Regions from separate parts of the Homo sapiens genome. Here regions 1, 2, 3 and 5 are each linked to region 4. The links are contacts of gene promoters, found by promoter capture Hi-C in blood cells and fetal thymus (Javierre and others, 2016). All regions are on one chromosome and are shown on one strand. The core of a region is centred on a gene start or on the middle of the fragment in contact, and the rest is flanking DNA. Distances in the headings are between cores, read along the strand shown.

The links. Contacts are between HindIII fragments. The CHiCAGO score rates a contact against its expected background, and 5 or more counts as called.
Region 1: a contact is called between a fragment that was not itself captured here and the fragment with the promoter of PCDHB1 in region 4, in 1 of 17 cell types (M1 macrophages). The highest score is 5.7, in M1 macrophages.
Region 2: a contact is called between a fragment that was not itself captured here and the fragment with the promoter of PCDHB1 in region 4, in 1 of 17 cell types (M0 macrophages). The highest score is 5.6, in M0 macrophages.
Region 3: a fragment that was not itself captured here is called in contact with the fragment with the promoter of PCDHB1 in region 4 in 1 of 17 cell types (M1 macrophages); the score reaches 5.3 in M1 macrophages.
Region 5: a fragment that was not itself captured here is called in contact with the fragment with the promoter of PCDHB1 in region 4 in 1 of 17 cell types (M1 macrophages); the score reaches 5.3 in M1 macrophages.

What each region holds. Positions count from the first base shown.
Region 1 is chr5:141,331,769-141,334,515 of GRCh38, forward strand. It overlaps PCDHGA1 (protocadherin gamma subfamily A, 1), which reads left to right. Exons shown (of 4, transcript NM_018912.3): 1 at 1-1,337. It also overlaps PCDHG@. Among named protein-coding and RNA genes, the nearest start is that of PCDHGA1, 2.6 kb to the left of the region's middle. RefSeq lists a silencer at 1,902-2,131. The HindIII fragment of the contact is 4,462 bases long and covers 1-2,747 here.
Region 2 is chr5:141,353,193-141,355,892 of GRCh38, forward strand. The region is part of intron 1 of PCDHGA1 (protocadherin gamma subfamily A, 1); the gene reads left to right. All of the region lies in intron 1 of PCDHGA2 (protocadherin gamma subfamily A, 2), which reads left to right. All of the region lies in intron 1 of PCDHGA3 (protocadherin gamma subfamily A, 3), which reads left to right. The region is part of intron 1 of PCDHGB1 (protocadherin gamma subfamily B, 1); the gene reads left to right. It also overlaps PCDHGA4 and PCDHG@. The HindIII fragment of the contact is 1,117 bases long and covers 763-1,879 here.
Region 3 is chr5:141,314,318-141,317,017 of GRCh38, forward strand. No RefSeq gene overlaps it. Among named protein-coding and RNA genes, the nearest start is that of TAF7, 5.1 kb to the right of the region's middle. The HindIII fragment of the contact is 2,150 bases long and covers 315-2,464 here.
Region 4 is chr5:141,049,966-141,052,665 of GRCh38, forward strand. PCDHB1 (protocadherin beta 1) reads left to right here and starts at 1,409. Exons shown (of 1, transcript NM_013340.4): 1 at 1,409-2,700. The coding sequence starts at 1,506. PCDHB1-AS1 (PCDHB1 antisense RNA 1) reads right to left here. Exons shown (of 4, transcript NR_105056.2): 3 at 914-1,205. It also overlaps PCDHB@. RefSeq lists an enhancer at 990-1,818. The HindIII fragment of the contact is 4,524 bases long and covers 1-2,700 here.
Region 5 is chr5:140,739,269-140,742,006 of GRCh38, forward strand. All of the region lies in intron 3 of LOC105378198 (a long non-coding RNA gene), which reads left to right. Among named protein-coding and RNA genes, the nearest start is that of ZMAT2, 40 kb to the left of the region's middle. The HindIII fragment of the contact is 1,719 bases long and covers 582-2,300 here.

The sequences.
Region 1 (2,747 bases), core at 241-2,740, 280 kb after region 4:
CTGGGACCATAATTGCTCTTATCAGTGTGCATGACCAGGACTCAGGAGACAATGGCTACACCACATGTTTCATTCCTGGAAATTTACCCTTTAAATTGGAAAAGTTAGTTGATAATTATTACCGTTTAGTGACTGAAAGAACACTGGACAGAGAACTTATCTCTGGGTACAACATCACAATAACAGCAATAGACCAAGGAACTCCAGCTCTATCTACTGAAACTCACATTTCACTACTAGTGACAGATATCAATGACAACTCCCCAGTCTTCCATCAGGACTCCTACTCTGCCTACATTCCCGAAAACAACCCCAGAGGAGCCTCCATCTTCTCTGTGAGGGCCCACGACTTGGACAGCAATGAGAATGCACAAATCACTTACTCCCTAATAGAGGACACTATCCAGGGGGCACCCCTATCTGCCTACCTCTCCATCAACTCCGACACTGGGGTCCTGTATGCGCTGCGATCCTTCGACTATGAGCAGTTCCGGGACATGCAACTGAAAGTGATGGCGCGGGACAGTGGGGATCCGCCCCTCAGCAGCAACGTGTCTCTCAGCCTATTCCTGCTGGACCAGAACGACAACGCGCCCGAGATCCTGTACCCCGCCCTCCCCACAGATGGTTCTACCGGCGTGGAGCTGGCGCCCCTCTCCGCAGAGCCCGGCTACCTGGTGACCAAGGTGGTGGCGGTGGACAGAGACTCGGGCCAGAACGCCTGGCTGTCCTACCGCCTGCTCAAGGCCAGCGAGCCGGGACTCTTCTCGGTGGGTCTGCACACGGGCGAGGTGCGCACGGCGCGAGCCCTGCTGGACAGAGACGCGCTCAAGCAGAGTCTCGTGGTGGCCGTCCAGGACCACGGCCAGCCCCCGCTCTCCGCCACTGTCACGCTCACCGTGGCCGTGGCCGACAGGATCTCCGACATCCTGGCCGACCTGGGCAGCCTCGAGCCCTCCGCCAAACCCAACGATTCGGACCTCACTCTGTACCTGGTGGTGGCGGCGGCCGCGGTCTCCTGCGTCTTCCTGGCCTTCGTCATCGTGCTGCTGGCGCACAGGCTGCGGCGCTGGCACAAGTCACGTCTGCTACAGGCTTCGGGAGGCGGCTTAGCGAGCATGCCCGGTTCGCACTTTGTGGGCGTGGACGGGGTTCGGGCTTTCCTGCAGACCTATTCCCACGAGGTCTCCCTCACTGCGGACTCGCGGAAGAGCCACCTGATTTTCCCCCAGCCCAACTATGCGGACACACTCATCAGCCAGGAGAGCTGTGAGAAAAAGGGTTTTCTATCAGCACCCCAGTCTTTACTTGAAGACAAAAAGGAACCATTTTCTCAGGTAAACTTTTGTGATGAATGTATCAGCTATCTAGAGAAAAATAATTCTTGATTTAACTTACTAGCGTTCGCTCTTTGCTACAGATAGTTCTTCTAACCCATGTATCTTTGTAGCTTTTTATTACAAGTCCTGCAAAATCACGATTGAGTCTACACGTTCATATGCAGGTATATTTATAATTGTTCTTGCACTGAAAAGGAGACTGTGATCATAATGTAGGTGGTTGGGTTGAAGGTATGTGTGAGATGCCATCTCTGTTTGGAAAGAGCACTGCATTAGAAACGGCGATCTAGCTTCTAACATTTTCTTACTTGCCTCTGGGCTAAAAGGTTTGATTAGAAAAGGCTCACCAATATTTAAATGACTAACACTATTTTCAAATTTTCTTTTTATAAGTACCTGCTAATCTACCCCTGAATTTAATGTAGATGTCATCTGTCAGGACACTGTGATAGTTTATTTGGGGACATTTGAAGAGGTGAAGATTGTCTAAAGTAGTATTTTTAGTTGTGTTCATATAAGATTATAGAGATCTATATAAACTGCAATTTTAAATTATTGTTGAATATTTTAGCCTTTTATTCTATCTTTATTATCAGATTTTTTTGGTTTTGAGATGGGGTCATGCTAGAGTGCAGTGGCATGATCATGGCTCACTGCAGCCACTACCTCCTGGGCTCAAGCGATCCTCCCACCTCAGCCTCTCAAAGTGCTGATATTACAGGTGTGAGCTGTGGTGCCTGTACTGAAGAATACGTCTATTTAAGTAATGTATGAAGTAACAAAATGAACAACACAAAATTTATCATGCAACTTGAGAAATATCTTTGAAGCCTCCTGACTTATACATTATACCTGTAATGAAATCAGCTAACAAAAATCAAGTATATATCCTATTTTAATGTGTGTTAACTTTTCAGAAGAAAAAAAAAGTATGGTCGGGGAGTAAGTCCATGCTTTGATGTATTTACTCTGCTCCAATAAAATACAGAGATACATAAAATATAAGAGGAAAGCAAAAGCAAAGTGGTGAGCTAGTCTAAAGCCATGTGAGTTATAGTCTTGGACTTAAAAGCAGAAATTGAAGGTTAGGAAACTGCCTCCAGCAATGTAATAGGGACAGAAGTGCTTCAGACTAGATAAATATCTGGACCAGGCTTACTGCCTGAATCCAAAATAAGCAATGAGGCCCTTCAGCTGGTTAAAAAGGAAAAGAAAGATGCATTAACATGCTGCCTAGCTGGGCGCAGTGGCTCACGTCTGTATTTCCAACAATTTGAGAGGCTGAGGCGGAAAGATCCTTGGAGCCCTGGAGTTCAAGACCAGCCGGACAGGGCGGCCTGCGACTGTAGTCCCAGCTACGCGGGGCGGGGAGGGGCGGGGCGGGGCGGGGCAGGAGCTGACGTGGGA
Region 2 (2,700 bases), core at 71-2,570, 300 kb after region 4:
TGCTAAAGAGACCTGTTTCCTAGATGTTAACACTTAGTAATAGCAGTGCCTTTTCTTAGTTGATATGCAATACTATATTTTCAAGTCATTTTATTCTTAGCTCTTTATAAATGTATTTAGAGTTCTTCCCACCCAAGTTAAAGTTCATCAATTACATTAATTATGTAATTGATGTAATTATGTATTAATGTAATTATGTAATTAATGTAATCTTCATCAATTACATTCTAGTTTGTCTTTTTGCAGCAACATGTATGTTTAATACAGCCTTCCAATTATTAAGACTCTTAACACTTTGTCTCATCACAAGTAGCAAATATTGTCCAATTTTATATTTGCATCACTAACTTTGAGTCAATATTATTCCCACTCTATAATTTCAGTCAATGATATTTCATAATTTTCTTAACCATTCCTAAATTATTTGTTTTTATGCTCTTTCTATTTTGTCTCTATTAAAACAAAGAATGTAATGAACATTTGGGTTTATAAAGCGTTTTCCATACTTCTTGTTTCTTTAGTGTAGATTTCTGAGGAATTAGTTAAATCTATAAACATGTTGAGATTTTTTTAATGCATACTGTCAAATTTATTTCCAAACATCTTATTTCACCTCTCAATCATCCGCAGTTTGTGCGGTCTTTGAGGATTGTGAAAAACACGTTTAATCTACTCTCTCAAAGTCTGAGGGTTTTTAAATTCTGTATAGCTAATGCCCTTTTGTATGAGTCATTTCTACTGCTAATTGTTAAGTGAGGAATAAGCTTAAGAACTGATGTACTGCTTTATCTCAAATTTTCACAGATTAGTAAATTACTGTAAGTATTCATAAGAAAGAAAGCGATGGCACATGCAATGATAATCCATGTTCGGCTACCAAAACATTTCCTTTTACTGGCTATTTCTAAAATGAGAGCTAAAGTAAAGTTAGAAATTGTAAAATAATACTGAATGTGTCATGTGAAAAAATCACTAAACTATTATCTGCACTTTATAGTTATTCAGTCTAACTTTTCTTTTTATTTCTTTTTTATTTTTAAGATCAGAGTTATTTACCCATTGTTTTAGGCTTTGCATTTGAACTGGTCATTCATGAAACATTGAAAGGTTTCATAAAAATTACTACTCTATGAAAGGTATTGTTCTAAAGATTGAGAACACATTGTGAACAAGATAGTCATATGCATAGCTTGTGGCCAAGAATCTACTGTACACAAAATTAAGGAGCAAATTCTCTTCCCAAACCTATTATCCTATTTGTCAATCTCATTTGTACAGGGTAAGGCTAACTCTTGAACAGTAGGTGAGTTTTTTGCAAGGGAATTGAAGCATTGCCCCAGGTTCTAGAGGGTCAACTCCTGTGAGGAAACTTGTTACTGCATAAATTGGGACTAAAGCCAGACCTCCAAGTTCCTGTCCCACTGTCTTTTCACTTATCTGTCTCATCCATTTTTCAAGTCCACCTTTGTCTTTAGGAGAGATAATTATGTCCCTCACACAATACGCTATACTGAGAATGGGCTGTGGGGATGAACAATGTGAAAACTGAAAAGAGGAAGAACACATCTTAGGAAAAAAATCGTCATATTTTCTCTAAGAAAATAAATAACTTCATAAAGTTTATTGTACAGGAAGACTTGGATCATTCTTGAATTTTCATTGCAAATCAAAAACAGGAATTTGACTTTATTATCTTGGGAGAAATAGGAATAGAAAAGTGTATAAAAAATAAACTTTTTTTAACCAAGAATAAATTGCAGTAACAGGTTAAGACTCTGGGTGTCGCTGTTCACCAATCAGGGGGAAAAGACAAACCAGAAATTTAATCAGAATCACAAGATTTCTGCAGCACAAAGCACTGGCTCTGGAGCTTTATGAAAGCTTCAAGCGGAAGCCCTGAGAGCTCTGGCTGTGAATGCACTTTATTTTGGACCCAGAAGATCCTGGGGCTCCTCAGGCCTCGACAGAGGGAAAACCGAAGCACAGGCGACTCCGCGGCGGGGTTGTAATGGCGGCGCCTCCTGCTCGCCCAGACCACACCCGGCTGCTCCAGATCTGCCTTCTCCTGGGGGTTCTGGTGGAAATCAGGGCCGAACAGATTCTCTACTCGGTGTTTGAGGAGCAGGAAGAAGGCTCAGTGGTGGGCAACATCGCCAAGGACCTGGGGTTGGCGCCCCGGGAGCTGGCGGAGCGCGGAGTCCGCATCGTCTCCAGAGGTAGGACGCAGCTTTTCGCCCTGAACCCGCGCAGCGGCACCTTGGTCACCGCGGGTAGGATAGACAGGGAGGAGCTCTGCGACAGATCTCCAAACTGTGTGACAAACCTGGAGATTCTTCTAGAAGATACAGTGAAGATTTTGCGGGTAGAGGTGGAAATAATCGATGTTAATGATAACCCACCCAGTTTTGGGACAGAACAGAGGGAAATAAAAGTTGCTGAAAATGAAAATCCTGGGGCAAGATTTCCTCTTCCTGAAGCTTTTGATCCGGATGTAGGTGTAAACTCCCTGCAGGGTTACCAGCTCAACTCAAACGGTTACTTTTCCCTGGACGTGCAAAGTGGGGCCGATGGGATTAAGTACCCAGAGCTGGTGCTGGAACGCGCTCTAGATCGCGAGGAAGAGGCGGTTCACCACCTCGTTCTCACGGCCTTCGATGGAGGTGACCCGGTTCGCTCTGGCACTGCCAGGATTCTCATAAT
Region 3 (2,700 bases), core at 140-2,639, 260 kb after region 4:
TATTAGAAAATAGTAGCAAAGAACCTTCCAACTTTTTAATGAAGACCACTGCACTTGACATAGCACCTGACATGATGAAACATCTAAATCACATGCTTCTTAAGAATTAGATTGAATGGCCAGATAGGGTTACCAGAGAAAATAAGGGTTGAGTTGGGCCTTCAGTGACAAAAAGCTATCCATGAGAATATCTGGTGACTATTCCAAGAAAAGAGAACTGTAAGTGCTAAACTGTAGGAGGAAAGAGCTGAGTAAATTTGTTTATGCTGCAGATAAATTTGAAGCAAACCGTTTCTGCTGTAACCTAATTTATAAGCTTTCATTTAGAATTTTTTTTCCCATCTGAATTTGGTTGAAACTGATCTCTAAAATTTCTTAAATTTGAAAACAATTACATTTAGAATAGTTGTTTCCCTATAAACACTTTTTCTAACATTTCAGTCACTCTTTAATTATTTAGTATCTGTTATGGTCCATACCTTAATGGGTTGTAATAGTGGTAAATTTACTTCTGTTGTTTACTTACTATGTTCCAGGCATTGTTCTAAATAAGTCATTTATATGATTCAGCAGCCAGCAGCCAACAGCCCAATAACCCTATGAGGTAGGTAGTATTATTGCCTCCACTTTGGAGATGAGAAAATTGAGGTAAACAGATTGCTACCTGTGCAAGGTCACACAACTAATAGGTAACTGAGCTAGGATACGAACCATGCATGACATGTCTTGATGTTAAGATTTTGATCTTTCTACTATTCTTCAGTAAGTTTACAGTCACTAATGTAGCAAAATATCTCAGTAAATTTAAAGCCAAGCAGGAGATACGAACAAAGGTAATTTACACTTTAGTTATAACAGATACTCATCCCAGTAGACCGTGCAGTGCATGAGTTTATAGACACTAAATGCTTTGTTCATCACTGCATATCCAGTAGCTTGTAGTTTGGTGCGCGCGCACACACACACACACACACACACACACCCCTTGTAGTTTGGCACACACACACACAAAATGTTTGTCAAATAAATGAGAGAGGGAAGAACAAAGTGCAAAGCCGTAATAGGGTTGCTTAACCTAGAGGGAGAAAAGGGTCAGAAAAGCCTTGCTGAAGTCACTTAGGTTGAGACCTGAGGGTTAAGTAGGACTCAGACAAAGGGTAAAGTCATCTAGGTGGAGTGAACTGCTTGTTAAAAGGATCTATGGCCCAGGAGTGGGAGAATGAGTAAGCTCCTTGAAAAAAATGTAAGTTCAGAGTGGACTGACCATATACTGAATGCGGAGCTGAGGCTGAAAAGGTAAATGGAGAACTCATAATCTTGTGCATCTTTTTGAGAAATACAAACCTAGCCCTGAGAGCAATGAGATGTCACTGAAGGGTTTTCAGCATGGTAGTAACACAATCAAATATGTCTCAGAAAAATGAGTTTGGTGGCAGTGAAAACTAAATTGGATGGTAAAGAAGCTATTGCCATTTGATAGATAATAATAATGGCTTGAAATAGGACAGTGGCTGTAAGGATGAAGTAGAGTGAGTGAAGAACTTCTTAAGTAAAATCAAAAGTAGCAAGGGAAAGGGAGAAATGTAAAGTTATGGCTCTAGTGTCCAGCTTCCACAGTTGGGATGTGTGGTGGTGCCATTTATTTTTACTGGAACCCAGAAGGAAAAGCAAATTTTCAAGGAAGAGGAAAAGTTCCATTTTGAACCTGTATTTTTTTTTTTGAGATGGAGTTTTGTTCTGTTGCCCAGGCTGGAGCACAGTAGCATGATCTCGGCTCACTGCAACATCCACCTCCCAGGTTCAAGCTATTCTCCCACCTCACCCTCCCAAGTAGCTGGGATTACAGGTGCCCACCACCATGCCCAGCTAATTTGTTTTGTATTTTTAATAGAGATGGGTTTTGCCATGTTGGCCAGGCTGGTCTTGAACTCCTGACCTCAGGTGATCCACCTGCCTCAGCCTCCCAAGGTGTTGAGATATAGGCATGAGCCACTGCACCCGGCCATTTTGAACATTTACACTTGAGTTGCCTGAGAGATACTTTCAAGTATGTTTCTAGTACACATCTGGCTAAACTAAACCTGAAGCACAGAAGAATCAAGGTTGGAAACGTGGATTTTAGAATCCACTTAGAACTCATAACTGAAACAGGAATAGTGAGATCAATATACTATTTTGTTATTGTATCCAGAATCTTTCCTTTCTGTTATTGATGGAACTGCCACCATTGGTGTTGAGACCTTGGTAAGAATAAACTACTTGATAAATGATCCACTGTAAAGCCAGATATGGTGGGAGCTTTTCAGGTGTCAATCTTCTAAGTGTAGCAAAATACCTAGATTACAAAAACAGTAAATTTTGTCACCTAGCATCCTAAACTGTTTTTTTGTTGTTGTTTAATATATATTATTTGGAAACCTCAAGAAATAATATAAAACCTAGATATTGAGGGAAACCTTGCTTAAGCTTACATATTCTGTGCTAAAATCCTAGTCACGGCCAGGCACGGTGGCCCACGCCTGTAATCCCAGCACTTTGGGAGGCCGAGGCGGGTGGATCACAAGGTCAAGAGATCAAGACCATCCTGGCCAACATGGTGAAACCCCGTCTCTACTAAAATTACAAAAATTAGCTGGGCTTGGTGGCACATGCCTGTAGTCCCAGCTACTCCAGAGGCTGAGGCAGGAGAATCGCTTGAAC
Region 4 (2,700 bases), core at 159-2,658:
GAGAGATTCATTAATTCCCTCATGTCAGGATGTAATTAATGTTCTGTACACTTTCTACTTTCATTCTTTTTTTCCTATTGGAAAATATAGTTAGATTTCCGTTAAGTGGCCATAATTTTATAGCACCTGGGACATAAAGTATTGAGCACAAATGAGAAATCAAATGTTTTAGGTAATGAGCATGAGACAGCATCAGAAGACAAGTTCTAGTTCTTACACTGCCATGAGTAGCTGTATGAATTGGGCAAGTGACTTCATCACTTCGGGCCTTAGTTTCTTCATCTGTTTTTTTTTTTTTTTAAAGTGGAGAGTGGGTGAGAAGGAGACTGGATCTCATCTTTCTGAAATGTCTTATTAAACATTCTATTATCCTATGATCATAAAGGAAACTCAACAAATATCTCCTATATTTCTATTAGGTCATTTTCAATATGTGTAAGCAATCTTATTTTATTTGCTTTAAAATCCAAAACCAAATATTTATCTTCATTTGATTTATTCATTATATTATCTGGGAAGCAGAGTAGTGTACTGATTAAGAGCATAGACTTCGGAGTCAGACAAAATTAAATTGAGTTTTATTTCTAACATTTGCTAGGTAGGGGACCTTGACATAACCTCTCCCATCTCACTTTCTTTGTCTTTTTTTTTTTTTAATAATGTCTACTCCATATAGTTGTTGCAAGTATTAAATTAAATAATGCATGTAAATCACTTGTCATAGTCTCAGTACATGGAAATCATATCCAATAAATACTACTGCCATTATAATCATAAGTGACAAGCCAGCTGCTCCCTTTGTGCACGTGTATACAGATATTTGGAGGGGGGCGGAGCGAATACGTAGAAGTAGCATGATAGCGTAGTGCAAATCAAGAGGTCAGTTGGCTTAGTCCCCTGTCAGTGTACTTACTGGACCTCAAGTTTCTGAAGGAGAATGTCTGTTCCCATTCCTTTTCCTACTGACCACTTCCTCCACATTCTCTAGCTCCCTGCCTCATATATTTGGCTTGGGCTTCGGAAGACTCTGCAGGATCCTTGTGCTTCTTTCTTGGTCTCTGGATGGACCGCAGAGTGTGCAGATGTAGCTTAAACTTGTTGCTGTTCGCCCACAGCTTCAGTGGCTCCAGACAGCTAGCAGATAGAATGACTTCAGCTTGAACGACTAATCTCATTGGCTTCTCAATTCCCAAGGACTTTTTTTCCTGAAAGGGAATTAACAGGTGAGTCTGTTGTTGCTTTGGCAACAAACTTTCAACCTCTACCTAACTCTCCGGAATGAGAACATATCTATTAATACATTCGCTAGACTGGGGAGTTGAGTCGCTCAATGCAAATTTTCTTTCAAGTGCAAAACAGCTTAATGGGCTCGGCTAGCCTTTGGTGGTGCTGCAGTTAGAGGCTAGTGAAGCGGAGAGCAGCTGTTGCAGTAACCTGTTGCAGAAAAGTGAAAGTATATCCGCAACAGTTGGCTCTGATTGCAGAGAGCGCGCTTGTGAGAACTGATGGCGGGTACGCGCAGAAAATCTTTGCAAAACAGGCAAGTGGGATCTCTTCTCATTTTTCTGTGCATATCTGTGGGGGATGCGACAACTATCCGCTATTCAGTGGCAGAGGAAATGGAGAGCGGCTCGTTTGTGGCCAACGTAGCTAAGGACCTAGGACTGGAGGTAGGGAAGCTGGCTGCGCGCGGGGCGCGGCTGGTTTCCGAGGGCAACAAAATGCATTTCCGGCTCCACCGCAAGACGGGAGATTTGTTTGTGAAGGAGAAACTGGATCGGGAGTCACTTTGTGGCAAAGCCGACCCTTGTGTTCTGCACTTTGAAGTAGTCCTGGTGGAGCCGCTGCAGTCCTTCCGGGCCGAGGTCAGGGTATTTGATATCAATGACAATGCCCCAGTTTTCCTAAACAAGGAGCCGCTTTTAAAGATTCCGGAGAGCACCCCTTTGGGTTCACGTTTTCCTCTGCAGAGCGCCCAGGATCTGGACGTGGGCCTTAACGGTCTCCAGAACTACACCCTGAGTGCCAATGGGTATTTCCACCTGCACACCCGCTTCTGCAGCCACGGGCCTAAATATGCTGAGCTGGTGCTGAACAAACCCCTGGACCGAGAGGAGCAGCCTGAAGTCAACTTGACAATTACGGCGGTGGACGGCGGGTCCCCGCCTAAGTCTGGCACAGCTCACATCCACGTGGTGGTTCTGGATGTCAACGACCACGTGCCCCAGTTCTCGCGACTGGTGTACAGAGCCCAGGTATCAGAGAACAGCCCCAATGGCTCTTTGGTGGCCACGGTGACTGCCGTGGACCTAGACGAGGGCACCAACAAAGCGATAACTTACTCTTTAGCTCAAAACCCAGAAGCAATTCTCAAGACGTTTCAGATTGACCCTCAAAATGGAGAAGTTCGACTAAGAGGACCCCTCGATTTTGAAGCCATTGAAACATACGACATTGACATTCAAGCTACAGATGGTGGAGGCCTCTCTGCCCACAGCAAAGTCCTGGTAGAAGTGGTGGATGTGAATGACAATCCTCCCGAAGTGATGGTCTCCTCTGTGTCCAGCCCACTCCCTGAAGACTCACCACCACAGACAGTAGTAGCCCTTTTCACTATCAGAGACCGGGACATTCGAGTGGGAGGAAAAGTCACCTGCTTCCTCAGAGAAGACCTTCCCTTTGTAATCAAACCTACATTTG
Region 5 (2,738 bases), core at 191-2,690, 310 kb before region 4:
GTTCAGAAAATTTGCTATTCTTATTACCTACTAGTTTTTCTGTAAATTTGCTGGATATTATAATGTTTATAATCATATTAACTCTAAATAAGGAGAGTTTTATACTCGTATTAACTCTAAACATACAGAGTTTTAACTCTAAATAAAAAAGTTTCATATAAGAAGGTGTATCTTCTCACTCATAAGTGGGAGCTAAGCTATGAGGCTGCAAAGGCATAAGAATGATACAGTGCACTTTGGGGACTCAGGGGTGTAGGGTGGGAAGTGGGTGAGGGATAAAAGACTACAAATTGAGTTCAATGTATACTGCTCTGGTGACGGGTACACCAATATCTCACAAATCACCACTAAAGAACTTACTCACGTAACCAAATACCACCTGTTCCCCAAAATCCTACGGAATAACCTCCTTATACTTTTCCCCTTCTTTTTCTAACCATGGAGAATGCCATATGAACACCTCAGACCTTTATATTTTTCTCTTGTTGTATACACTGGTTAGGCCCTTTGGAACAATGACGACAGGATGATTAAAGTGATGATAGCAGACATCCCTGTCTTGTTCTGGATTTCAAAGGGAAAGCTTTAATCATTTCACCATTAAGTATGATGTTTGCTTTAGCTTTTTTTTTTTCCCCTGGACACCCTTACCAAGTTACAAATATTCTCTTATATGCCTAAGGATACAACTAATATCTGCTAAAAATCTTAAGATTAATTAAGATTATTTTAAAATCATGAAAGGTTGTTGAATTTTATTAAGTAATTTTTCTGCATGTACATAGATAATCATGATTTTCCCTTTAGTTCATTAACTTTGCATATATACTAATTACTTTTATAATGTTAAGTCAACCTCATATCTTGGAGAAATTCTACTTATGCTGTATTATTCTTTTTTATGTACTACTGGATTTAATTTTCTAATAATTAGTATGGGTTTTTTTTCATTTATTTACATTAATGACATTAGACTGGGCTTTTCCTTTTTTGTGTGTATTTTTTACAATAGGATTCACTATCAGGTTATTTTAGCATTAGAAAATCATTTAGGAAGTGTTCCTTCTTATTAATTAGGATAGTTTGTATATGATTGAAATGACTTAATTTTTCTTTTCTTTCTTTTTCTTTTATTGAGACAGGCTCTTGCTCTCTCACCCAGGCTGGAATGCAGTGGTGCGATCATGGCTCACTGCAGCTTCCACCTCCTGGGCTCAAGCGATCCTCCTGCCTCAACCTCTCAAGAATCTGGGACCACAGGCACATACCACACGCCCAGCTAATTTTTTATTTTTAGTCGCGATGAGGTCTCACTGTGTTGCATGGGATGATCTCGAACTCCTGGGCTCAAGCCATCCTCCTACCTCGGCCTCCCAAAGTGTTGGGATTATAGGTGTGAGCCACTGTGCCTGGCCCTAACAATTCTTTGTTAGATGAATATTCATGTTAACATTTTTATGCCTTTGCAAAATATAATTCCCAGCAGAACATGGTCATATACCATGATTGTCTCCTTTTCTTCTTTCTACTTTTCCTGAAGTTAATGCTTGACTTTTCTTCATGTGCTTAGTTTTCCTTGGACCTCTTGTTAATTTTTTGCACATTCTTCAATAACTCTTAGTACAGTTTTCTATGTGGTATATCATTTCAGGTAATCAGAGAAAGTATTAATACAAAAGAGCTATAAGATACCAGAATGTTTAGGCCCAGATCCAGAGAGGAGTAATTGTTGTGGGTTATTACCTAGTAACCAGGTAACAATGAAGCTCTGGTAGCTTTAAAGACCCAAGGCTGGCATTTGGCAGTTTGGGAGGATTTCATGGGTCTGACTCATGTACTGGCTGTGAAAGTTGATTTGAGCTAAAATGACCCCGGTTTGGTCATCTGGGAAGCACTGAGGCTGGTCCAAGACTTGTGGCAGGTAGCCACTGAGTGGGAGGAGGGAGAGTGAGCCTAGACACAGCTGGGGGAACAGTTTTTAGGGAAAGGAAGACATGGGTTTCTCTCAGTGGTGTGCATCCTCAAATGGGGGCTTCCCAAGTTTGTGTGTCCTGGTCTGGAAGTTGTGGTGGGTAGAAGGAAACTTAAAACTCAGCATCGTTCTTGAACCATTCAGGCCTAGGCTGACCCTACTGCCCAGGGTATACCAACTCATGACACTTATCTGTCAAGGAACTCCAAATTCAATCTACTTTCTGCATTATCTCAGTGATATATTTGCATGCTTCTTCCTGTCTGTGTTTTGGGGGCAGGTTTGATGTCCATGGACCCTCTTTAGTCCTCTATGTATGTCCCCACCAAGCTTATCATTTTCTTGGAGATGGGAGAGAGCCCTTTTTCAAGGAGGGGTCTAAAACGGCATGGATTCCTGAGAAGACTAGGCTGGGTCAGGAGCTGAAGAGGTTTAAGGTTGGGACAGAAACTCTGGAGGTTAGCCTTGGTAAGAGTCTTTTGAGACCTACTCCATGAGTAAATCTGCTCTTCACCAAATTTCCAGATCCCCACAGTTCCTCTGAGCAGCTTCTCACTACTGTCATCTCTCCCAGATATGAACCAAATCCCTGGTTGCCAAGACAAGTTGACAAGGTTTGAAAAAGAAACTATTTTGAAACAGAACTTCAAGGAAAAATAAGAACCCATTCTCAGGCAAATCCTAGCAGCTTTGATTAGTAAAGAAACAGCAGTCCTTGTTTGATTCAGACAGTTTATTACTTACATAGACACAAAAGGAAATAAGC